Linked DNA regions of Homo sapiens: region 1 is linked to region 2. Evidence: promoter capture Hi-C in human tissues and cell types (Jung and others, 2019). All regions are on one chromosome and are shown on one strand. Each heading gives the region's core, a stretch centred on a gene start or on the middle of the fragment in contact. The rest is flanking DNA. Distances are from core to core; before and after follow the strand shown. Region 1 overlaps SLMAP (sarcolemma associated protein). Region 2 holds the start of DNAH12 (dynein axonemal heavy chain 12).

Evidence for each region. Contacts are between HindIII fragments. The study calls those that stand out against the background at their distance.
Region 1: a contact is called between a fragment that was not itself captured here and the fragment with the promoter of DNAH12 in region 2, in 1 of the 25 tissues and cell types used here (dorsolateral prefrontal cortex).

The regions. Positions count from the first base shown.
Region 1 is chr3:57,764,711-57,769,728 of GRCh38, reverse strand. All of the region lies in intron 2 of SLMAP (sarcolemma associated protein), which reads right to left. Among named protein-coding and RNA genes, the nearest start is that of SLMAP, 11 kb to the right of the region's middle. The HindIII fragment of the contact is 4,536 bases long and covers 1-3,582 here.
Region 2 is chr3:57,543,089-57,548,259 of GRCh38, reverse strand. DNAH12 (dynein axonemal heavy chain 12) reads left to right here and starts at 3,916. Exons shown (of 74, transcript NM_001366028.2): 1 at 3,916-4,063. RefSeq lists an enhancer at 3,778-4,328. The HindIII fragment of the contact is 14,626 bases long and covers 1-5,171 here.

The sequences.
Region 1 (5,018 bases), core at 65-2,564, 220 kb before region 2:
TGCTCTGTTAATCCTACCTACCTTGAATACTCACTCACTGTCTTCTACTTCCTATATCCCAAGCTGCTTTCACTAAGCTATTACTTCATCTAACATTCCTTTTTGGGCCTAGGTGCGGTAGCTCACCCTGTAATCCTAACACTTTGGGAGCCTGAGGTGGGAGGGTTGCTTGAGCCCAGGAATTTGAGACCAGCCGGGCAACATAGTGAGACCTTGTGTCTTAAAAAAAAAAATCCAGCCGGGCGCGGTGGCTCATGCCTGTAATCCCAGCACTTTGGGAGGCCAAGGCGGGCGGATCACGAGGTCAGGAGATCGAGACCATCCTGGCTAACACGGTGAAACCCCATCTCTACTAAAAATACAAGAAACTGGCTGGGCGTGGTGACAGGCGCCCTGTAGTCCCAGCTACTCAGGAGGCTGAGGCAGGAGAATGGCGTGAACCCAGGAGGCAGAGCTTGCAGTGAGCCAAGATCGCGCCACTGCACTCCAGCCTGGGCAACAGAGCAAGACTCCATCTCAAAAAAAAAATAAAATAAAATGAAAATCCTTTTTGGAGATATAATTCAAACACCATACAATTGCCAATTTAAGTATACAATTCAGAGTTGTGCAACCATCGCCACAATCAATTTTACATTTTCATCATCCCAAAAAGAAACTCGTACCAATTTGGCAGTCATATCCTATGTTAGTCAAGGCTCTAGAAAAACAGAACCGATTGCATGTACATTTATATAGAGAGATTTATCTAATGGAATTGGCTCACGCAACTGGGGTGGGGGGTGCTGGCAAGTATGAAATTGGCGGGGCATATCATTAGACTAGGGATTCAGGGAAGAGCTGTTGTGTAGTCTTGAGTCCAACAGCTTTGTGAGGGCAAAATTCCTAACTTCAGGGGGACCTCAGTCTTTTTTTTTAAGGCCTTCGACTGATTAGAGAGGCCCACCCACATTATGGAGGGTAATATGCTTTACTCAAAGTATAATGGTATAAATGTTAGTCACATCTAAGAAATACTTTCACAGGAATATCAGGTTGGTGTTTGACCAAAAGTTGGTCAAGTGAAAAACTGATACCACAGCCTAGCCACACTGACATAAAATTAACCATCACATTCCTAATTACCCTCAGCCCCTAGAAACCACCAATCTTTGTTTCTATGAATTTACCTATTCTACACATTTCATATAAACAGTTGCCCAGGCTGAACTTGAAATCCTGGCCTCAAGCAATCTTCCTGCCTCAGCCTCCCAAAGTGCTAGGATTACAGGTGTGAGCCACCACACCTGGCCTGCTTGACTTTTTATGAGAATGTATTCCTGTTATTTGTATAAGTAAAAAATAAGAAAAGCTTGAAAGTCTATATTGGAAAATCCTTTCTGCTTGGCTCAGCTAGAATAAGTCAGTACTTATATATAAATAAAACTGTAAGCCTGAAAATATTGAGAAAATCTTAACACACAGTTTCTATGTGCTTAAATTTAAAATCCAACCCAAATTGTATACTTGACAAAAGATACAGTACTAACCACCAAACACGTCCATATTTTCAAGTGCCTATATAAGCTTTCCTTCTTTTCTTTACATTTGTCAGCTACTCTCTTATAAAGCATGAAAAATGTACATGGCCAAACAAGTTTTTCCAAGGCTGTTTCATTCATTTTCATATATACCCAAAGCCAAATCAGTTTGCCTGAATGCAAGCCCAAGAAAAAATATTGTATTTCTAGGAGTAGTAGAGGTAAGTTTTTAAAAATGTTAGCTGACTCAGAGAAATAATTAACTTGAGTTATTTCAGTCTTTGAAAGTCCGTAATATGACAAGTTTCGGTTATACATCAAAAAGCAATAGCTTAGATTACCTTTCAAGAGAGCAAAAGACAGATTTTCATAATAATTGCTCAGTCCCTAAGAAGACAGTTCAGAATAAATGTCTAATAGTTGGCTTTCATTTTGGGGGGAAAAAAACTCCCATAGTTACCACTAGATGATCTTGTACAAATAACCTCTAAACATCAAACTCTTTTTGGACAAAAGCGAGCCAGACTGCAGCTGTTTTACTTACCTTCTAAGAGTGTTATATAGACCAAATGAAACAAGAAAGCACTCTGATTATTCTAAAACCTTTTAAAATTATTTTGTGTGAAATTGTAATAGTTCATATATATAATTTCATATCACCAATCACAAGATTTGGATCTACGATCCAAAAACACTTAGCAAAATGTTTTGCAAACTGCAAGCTCTCAATAAATAATGACTTATACAAAGACTACATATTGATAATTGAGTCCATGATCTCAAATTGAGAACTAACTTGAATGACTTTCTGCCCTTTAACACTGCACAGGTTTGCAGAAATACAAACCGCTCCATTGTTCACATTTCCCTCATTCAAACATGAATGTAGTGCCTATTCTCTTGCTCTCAAGAGTTCACATCTGATGGGACAGTAGTACATTTGCATCATAGTTATTTTGTTGTTTATGTCCCATAATGAAATTATATACAGGCCGGGTGCAGTGGCTCACACCTGTAATCCCAGCACTTTGGGAGGCTGAGGCAGGTGGATTGCTTGAGGCCAGGAGTTCGAGATCAGCCTGGGCAACATGGTGAAATCCCATCTCTACTAAAAATACAAAAATTAGCCAGGTGTGCTGGGGGGTGCCTGTCATCCCAGCTACTTGAGAGGCTGAGGCAGGAGAACTGCTTGAACCCATGAGGTGGAGGCTGCAGTAAGCCAAGATCACACCACTACACTCTAGCCTGGGTGACAGAGAGGGACCCTGTCTCAAAAATAAAAATAAAAATAAATTTAAAAAAAAGAAATAAAGAAATTATACACAAAGTTAAATGGAAGTATAGAGGAAGAAGCAATTAATTCTTCAGTTAAAGGGAGTCAGGGAAGGTTTCACATTGGAACTGAGCCTTAAGGGATGACAAGAAGAGGTCATTCTAGAAGACAAAACAGCAAAAAAAGGCACTTGTTCTAGAAACAGTGAACACTGTCATACAGCTAGTACACAAAGTTTGGGGTGAAGAAAAAACAGTAATAAAAGAGAGAGCTAGAAAAAAAGAAAATAAGATATAGATTTTAATGCTAAAAATTAATGAGGCAACGTCAAAGATTTTTAAGCAAAGGTGTAACTATTTATCTACCTATATAGTGTCAGTAAGAGAAGCATGTACCTGAGAAGAGGAAAGAGTCTGGACTGTAAACTTAGAACGTTTCAGCCGCTAATAAATGCCACCATTTTTCTTGATTCAAGTAACTATGAAGTAACTGACATATATTAAGAGTTAACTTCACAATCTTTTCACTTAAAACTCTAAATGACATTCTCTTCCCTACTTACCAAAAAGAATAAATACTAAGCTCTAGCAGAAATATCACTTAAGAAAACCAGACAGGTAGACTGGGTGTGGTGGCTCACGCCTGTAATCCCAGCACTTTGGGAGGCTGAGGCAGGCGGATCACGAGGTCAGGAAATCGAGACCATCCTGGCTAACACGGTGAAACCCTGTCTCTACTAAAAATACAAAAAAAAAAAAAAAAAAAAAAAATTAGCCGGGTGTGGTGGTAGGCGCCTGTAGTCCCAGCTACTCAGGAGGCTGAGACAGGAGAATGGCGTGAACCCGGGAGGCGGAGCTTACAATGAGCCGAGATCGCGCCACTGTATTCCAGCCTGGGCAACAGAGCAAGACTCCGTCTCAAAAAAAAAAAAAAAAGAAAGAAAATCAGACAGAAGCCTAAAAGGGCAAAGAGTGAATTTAACCTAAGGAGTAATGTCAAAGAACTAAGTGGGAAAAAAAATGCTTTAAGTATATACACTGTCGATATTTTTAACAATTTGAAATCACAGATAAAATATTTTATCAATTTCCCACTATTATGAAAAATAATATAGAGGGAAATGAACATGTGCTTTAAAGATATAATCTGGCTTCCTATACATGTTCACATTATGTGTCTTAAATACAACTTGTCAAGTAAAAGACTTTCTCACAAACACCAGCACCCCTTAATGATCTTTATACTTCTGTCAACAAAAAACTTAAGTATCTGTTAAAACAAACATACAAACAAATAAAAAGTAAAAGAATGTATGACCTGCCATTCTCCCAAAAGCTGAGGCTAGGATCTTTGTGGTCATGTTTAGATGTGTGGAGGAAAAAAGAAGAAACAATCTTGGTTGTCAAATTCAGCAGGCTCTTCACAATGTCTTCCTTACAATGTCCTTGGAACATGCCGTATCATCCCTGCTTCTTCCTCCCACCCAAAACTCCTTTCCCTGACTGACCCTAACTACAATCTATCCCTTAACCCCATATTTTTTTTTAAGATGGGTCTCACTATGTCACCCAGGCTAGAGCAATCATAGTGCACTATAGCCTTGAACTCCTGGCCTAAGTGATCCTCCTGTTTCATCCTCCCAAATAGGTGGGGCTACAGACCTGATGCACCCCTGGCAAATACAAGTTTTTGAACTTTTTGTTTTTTAGAGACAAATTATTGCTATGATGCAAAGGCTGCAGTGCAGTGGATTTTCACAGGTGCAATTTTGGCATACTACAGCCTCAAACTCCTGGCCTCAAGCAATCTTCCAGACTCAGCCTCCCAAGTAGCTGATATTACAGGCATTTGCCACTGTTCCTGGCCATTCTTCCTCTTTTTAAAAGTCCTAAGGTCTAGTTTAAATTGGATTTCATCCATGAAACTGTTTCATCCATTAAACTTTCCCTAAAGTCTTCAGTTCACACAGGACCTTGCGCTTTGCCGAAGTCCTAATGTGCAAGTTAATTTAATACTCTTATCTTTTTTCATTTTCTGGCATTTAATCATTTTCATTCCTACTGTTAACCTGGTCTATGCCCTCACAAAATCACATCATATCTAAAGTGTTATAAAGCCTTTAGAATAGCACAGTGGTTATGAGCTTGAGTTTAAATCTCAATTCTACCATTTAATAGCTAGGTGAACTTGACCAAGATCTCTCTGTGCCTCAATTTCCTCACAGG
Region 2 (5,171 bases), core at 2,667-5,166:
AATTATACAGGAAACCTTTGCATTACATTTATATGAACATGTTATTAATATGTGTTTTAAAAGTATATGAGATTCCTAAAAGTCTGATGTGTCTTTTTGTATGTTATCAGTCATAATTATGGCTACTATGTAAACTTGTTATAGACTACAGAAAAAAACAAATTTCCTTGTCAATCGCATCATTGTTGTAAACTCTTACCAGGTCTTTCACCATAGCCATTCTAAATCTTGTTGTTCGTAGTAAATTGCTTTATTCTAATGTTTTTTCTAAATGATCTTTGCAAGCAAATATAATCCTAAAGCATTGTGTCTTCAAAGAGGTTTATGAGAAGGATAAAAAGTCTGATACATACTCTGGAATACAGGCCTCTGTTGATTATTAAGTTGGACTGAATAAGAACTTGAGAAACTCCAATGGTAAAAACTGGACTTAAAATTGCTAATTTATCAAGTAGAACAAAAATTAATTACATGGGACGGAACTGATGAGGACTGAAATGATTTTAATGACTTTTTTGCTTGAAACGTTGCTTTTTATTATTATTTTCTTTCAGAGTTAAGAAAACTTTTTTTCTCTGCATTATCTGTAGTTTTATAGCAATTTGGTAACTTTTTGGTATATTTTGTGAGTAAAATTGAAATATTTATCTTTCTCTCTACCTGATATCTCCAGAATTAGGAAACTATTCATGAGTATTCTTGTTTTATGGCAATATTATTTATTTGTATAAGCTCAAGAGGAATCTGTTCTTGTAAAAGAACACACTTTTGGAAACATTGGCTATTAAAAAGGATGTACATCGGCCAGGCGTGGTGGCTCACACCTGTAATCCTAGCACATCTAGAGGCCAAGGCAGGAGGATTGCTTGAGGCCAGGAGTTCAAGACCATCCTGGCCAACATTGTGAGACTTTGTCTCTATAATAAAATTTTTTTTTAAAGTAAAAAAAAAAAGGACGTACATTGTATCAGTCAGGGTTCAAAGTGGGAAGCAGAACCACTAAGATATAATACATATCATCTATATCTATATCTATATCTATATCTATATATGTGTGTGTGTATGTCTATACATATATATATATTTTTTTAAACAAAGAATTGGCTTATGCAATGGAGGGGGCTGGTTAACCAAGTCCATGGTCTGTAGGGCAGACTATCTGTCAGGAAGGGAAGAACCAGAAAATGGAGAGCAGTTATAGACCCAGCTGCTGTTTGGAGTTTGACTCAGGGCATGCCCATCTCTTTATTATTATTTTTTTAATTTTTAATTTTTTAAAATAGAGACAGAGTTACACCATGTTGCCCAGGCTGGTCTCAAACTCCCTCAAGAAGTCTGTCTGGCTCGGCCTCCTAAGGTGCTGGGATTACAGGGTTGATCCACTTTGCCAGGCCTAAATCTTTTTAAAAGGATTTCTACTGATTGAGTCAGGCTCACCCAGGATAATCTTCTTAGATCAATGTCAATTGACCAGGGACTTGAATTGAGCTGTAATCTCCTCACAGCAGCCCTAGATTAGTGTTTGATTAATGACTGGGAGAAGGTGGGTATATCATACACAAGATTGCTGCCTTCTCTTTAGTTCTTCTAATTTAGCCTAACCAAATTGACATTCAGGCTAGATATGGTGGCTCATGCCTATAATCCCAACACTTTTAGGAAGCTGAAGCAGGAGGATTGCTTGAGTCCACTAGTTTGAGGCAAGCCTGTGCAACATAGTAAGACACTGTCCCAACAAAATATTTTTAAAAATTAGCCGATGTCGTGGTGTGTGCCTGTAGTCCCAGCTACTCAGGAGGCTAAGGTGGGAGGATCCCTTGAGCCCAGGAGTTTGAGGATGCAGTGAGCTATTGCTGTAGTCTCAGCAATGCACCAAGATGTAACAGTTTCTCATTGTCTGAGATAACACCTGGAGTTATTTGTCCCACCTCCAAGATGATTAAGGAGCGCAGACCCAAAGGTTAGTTTAGAACGAACGTTTAATAAGAGAAAGAAGAAAGCTCTCTGCCAGCAGAGAGGGGGACCTGAATGGGGTGCCCCCTATGAGGCTGGGGTCCAGGGTTTTTATGGACTGGGAAGGGGAAGGAATGTGCTTCGTCCCCCGACCCCGCTACCCTGGGGCTTGGCCTGGTACTAATCAGGAGCTGAAATGATGATTCATAGATGCTGCTTAGCTTGGCTCGGGACCTATCAGGAACTGAAGAGAAAGTTTGGCCCTGGACCTTGGCCCAGGACAAATCAGGAGCTGAAGTGATGATTCCTAGAAGCCGGACTTACAATCCAAATAAAGGAAAGTAGAGTGCCCACTGGAACCTACTGGAGCCCACTGTGCCCATACCCACAAAAGGAAAATAAACTTTTTTTTCCCTGGGAGCCCATTGACTATACAAAGGACAAAGGCATTTCTTTGTTCCTTTATGTGAGTGAGGAGGAGGTCTGTGCAAGTTTTTGTCCAAATGGGCTGGAGATTTTTCTATCTGTGGAGCCGTGGGCATGTCTCCAGGCACAACACCCTGTGCTAGTTCCCTTATTGGTGCCTGCCGCTTGAATTTTTTCCCAGGCTGCTTTTTATGTTATGTGGGGATGAGGCACTGACCCATGGGCTGGGGGTTCTCTGGGGACCCTTCCCTTGCTATCTACCTAATGCAAAATCTAGCTGACTCCTTTCACTATGATGGTGCCGCTGCACTCCAGCCTGGGTGACAGAGCGAGAGCCCTGTCTCTAAAAAATAAACCCTAACAAATTGACATTAAAAAAACTGTCTAATCTGTCATAGGACTGAGTTTAAAAGAGAAAAGGTGGCATGGTGCAGTGGTTCACGCCTGTAATCCCAGCATTTTGGGAGGCCGAGGTGGGCGGATGACCTGAGGTCAGGAGTTCAAGACCAGCCTGACCAACATGGAGAAACCCCGTCTCTACTAAAAAAAAAAAAAAGAAAAGAAAAAAAATTAGTCGGGTTTGGTGATGCATGCCTGTAATCCCAACTACTTGGAAGGCTGAGGCAAGACAATCACTTGAACCTGGGAGGTGGAGGTTGTGGTGAGCACTCCAGCCTGGGCAACAAGATCAAAACTCTGTCTCAAAAAAAAAAAAAAAAGTCACATTATTTATACAAGTATTTTATTTTCTACAGAAAGATAATTTGCTTTTACAAACTACCAGGAAGTTTTACTTGTTCATTCACTCGCTTAAATGACATTTTAGAGCACCTACTCTGTGCCAGACACAATAGTGTAGGCTGTACTCTCATTAAAAAAAAAAAAAAAAATTACGTAGCAACTGGCACATAGAAGGTGCTCAAATATTTGTTGAATGAATATGCTGTTAACACACCGGCAGTATTCACTTCCCTAATTTAATTTTGGCACATAGTATTCTCGTAGGCTATTATCATTTAGATGTAGTATGCATTGTGCAGCTTCAAACAGCAAAATTTCACATCTTTCTCCCAGCATACCACTAAATTCACACACCTTAACCTGTTTGATTTTGCCAAAGAATTCCTGGAAGTGCTGTGTCAACAAATAGCAAATCTAGAAGCAAGATAAATTATATTGCTGATTAGTTACAATATTTACAGGGTGTCACTAGGGGACATTTGAAGACTTGATTCTCTTGCTGAGAGTGTTTCCATAAATCTGTTTTCCAACAGATCTAAATTTCCAGTCTTGCAGTTTTCCACAGTTTGAAGATTCTAATTTCCTGGTCCCCTTCCCAGGAAAGGCAGTTAGGTTAAAACAAACAAACAAAACCTCACACCCCATTTACTTGAGTAACGAATTATTGTTGTGACAGGTAATCCTAACCCCTTGCAGCTTGGCAACTGCCTCTCCAGGCAACCTTCACCCAGCCCCTCCAGCTGGGGCCGCCACAGTTTCCATGGCGACGACGTTGTTTCCAACCGGTCAGCGACCGCCCTTCTCCAGCTACTCGTTTGAGAGCCGGTGGCGTTCCGGAGGTTTCTCCCTCGTTATCCCCCTGCCTTTCACCTGAGGAGAGGCTCTGACTGTCTCTCTCTCTCTCTGGCGTCTGCGCAGCGGGGAAGTAGTGAGAAACAATCAGGTACTTGTTCTCTGCTGTTCTCTTCCTTTCTCTCCCAGGGCAGGTATCGCGATTTGGGTGCCAACTTAAACACTCTTTCAAGGCAGGAATCTCCAAATCCTGTAGGCATTCATGGCAAATATAGTTGTTATCACAGTACAATTTTTTTTTGAGACGGAGTCTCGCTTTATCGCCCAGGCTGAAGTGCGGTAGCGGGATCTCAGCTCACTGCAACCTCTGCCTCCCAGGTTCAAGCGATTCTTGTGCCTCAGCCTCCTGAGTAGCTGGGATTACAGGCGCCTGCCACCACGCCCGGCTAATTTTTGTATTTTTAGTAGAGATGGGGTTTCACCATGTTGGCCAGGCTGGGCTCGAACTCCCGACCTGAGGTGATCCGCCCACCTCGGCCTCCCAAAGTGCTGGGATTACAGGCGTGAGCCACCGCGCCTGGCCCACAGTAAAATTTTTGAGCATTTACATGACATTTTATATTTGCCATGCATCAAGTATGCCTATTTTTTGCTTGATCATAGCATCACTTTCTTGGAAGGCAGCAAGACTAAGATATCATACTGATGTTTAAAAATATTAATGATTGGCTGGGGGCGGTGGCTCACGCCTGTAATCTCAGGACTTTGGGGGACCGAGGCGGGAAATCATCTGAGGTCAGGAGTTCGAGACCAGCCTGGCCAACATGGTGAAACCCTGTCTCTACTAAAAACACAAAAAAGTAGCTGGGCGTGGTTGCGCACCTGTAGTCCTAGCTACTCGGGAGGCTGAAGCAGGAGAACCACTTGAACCTGGGAGGCGGAGGTTGCAGTGAGCCAAGATCGCGCCATTGCACTCCAGCCTGGGCGACAGAGCAAGAATCTGTCTCAAAAAAAAAAAAAAAAAAAAAAAAACCATTAATGATGTTAAATATCAGCTTTTACTGGGAAGGGGATCATCCCTCAACAACTGGATTTGTTGTGGTGGTGGTGGTAGTGGTTTGCATCTCGGGAAAATTTTGCACCCAGAATGCTACAGCTGTAGGGATATTTACAGAGCATCTAATTCAATTCCTTAGTTTCATCCATTAGGAAACAAGCCCTGAAGGGGAACTGACTGGCTCATTGCTTCATAAGTGAGT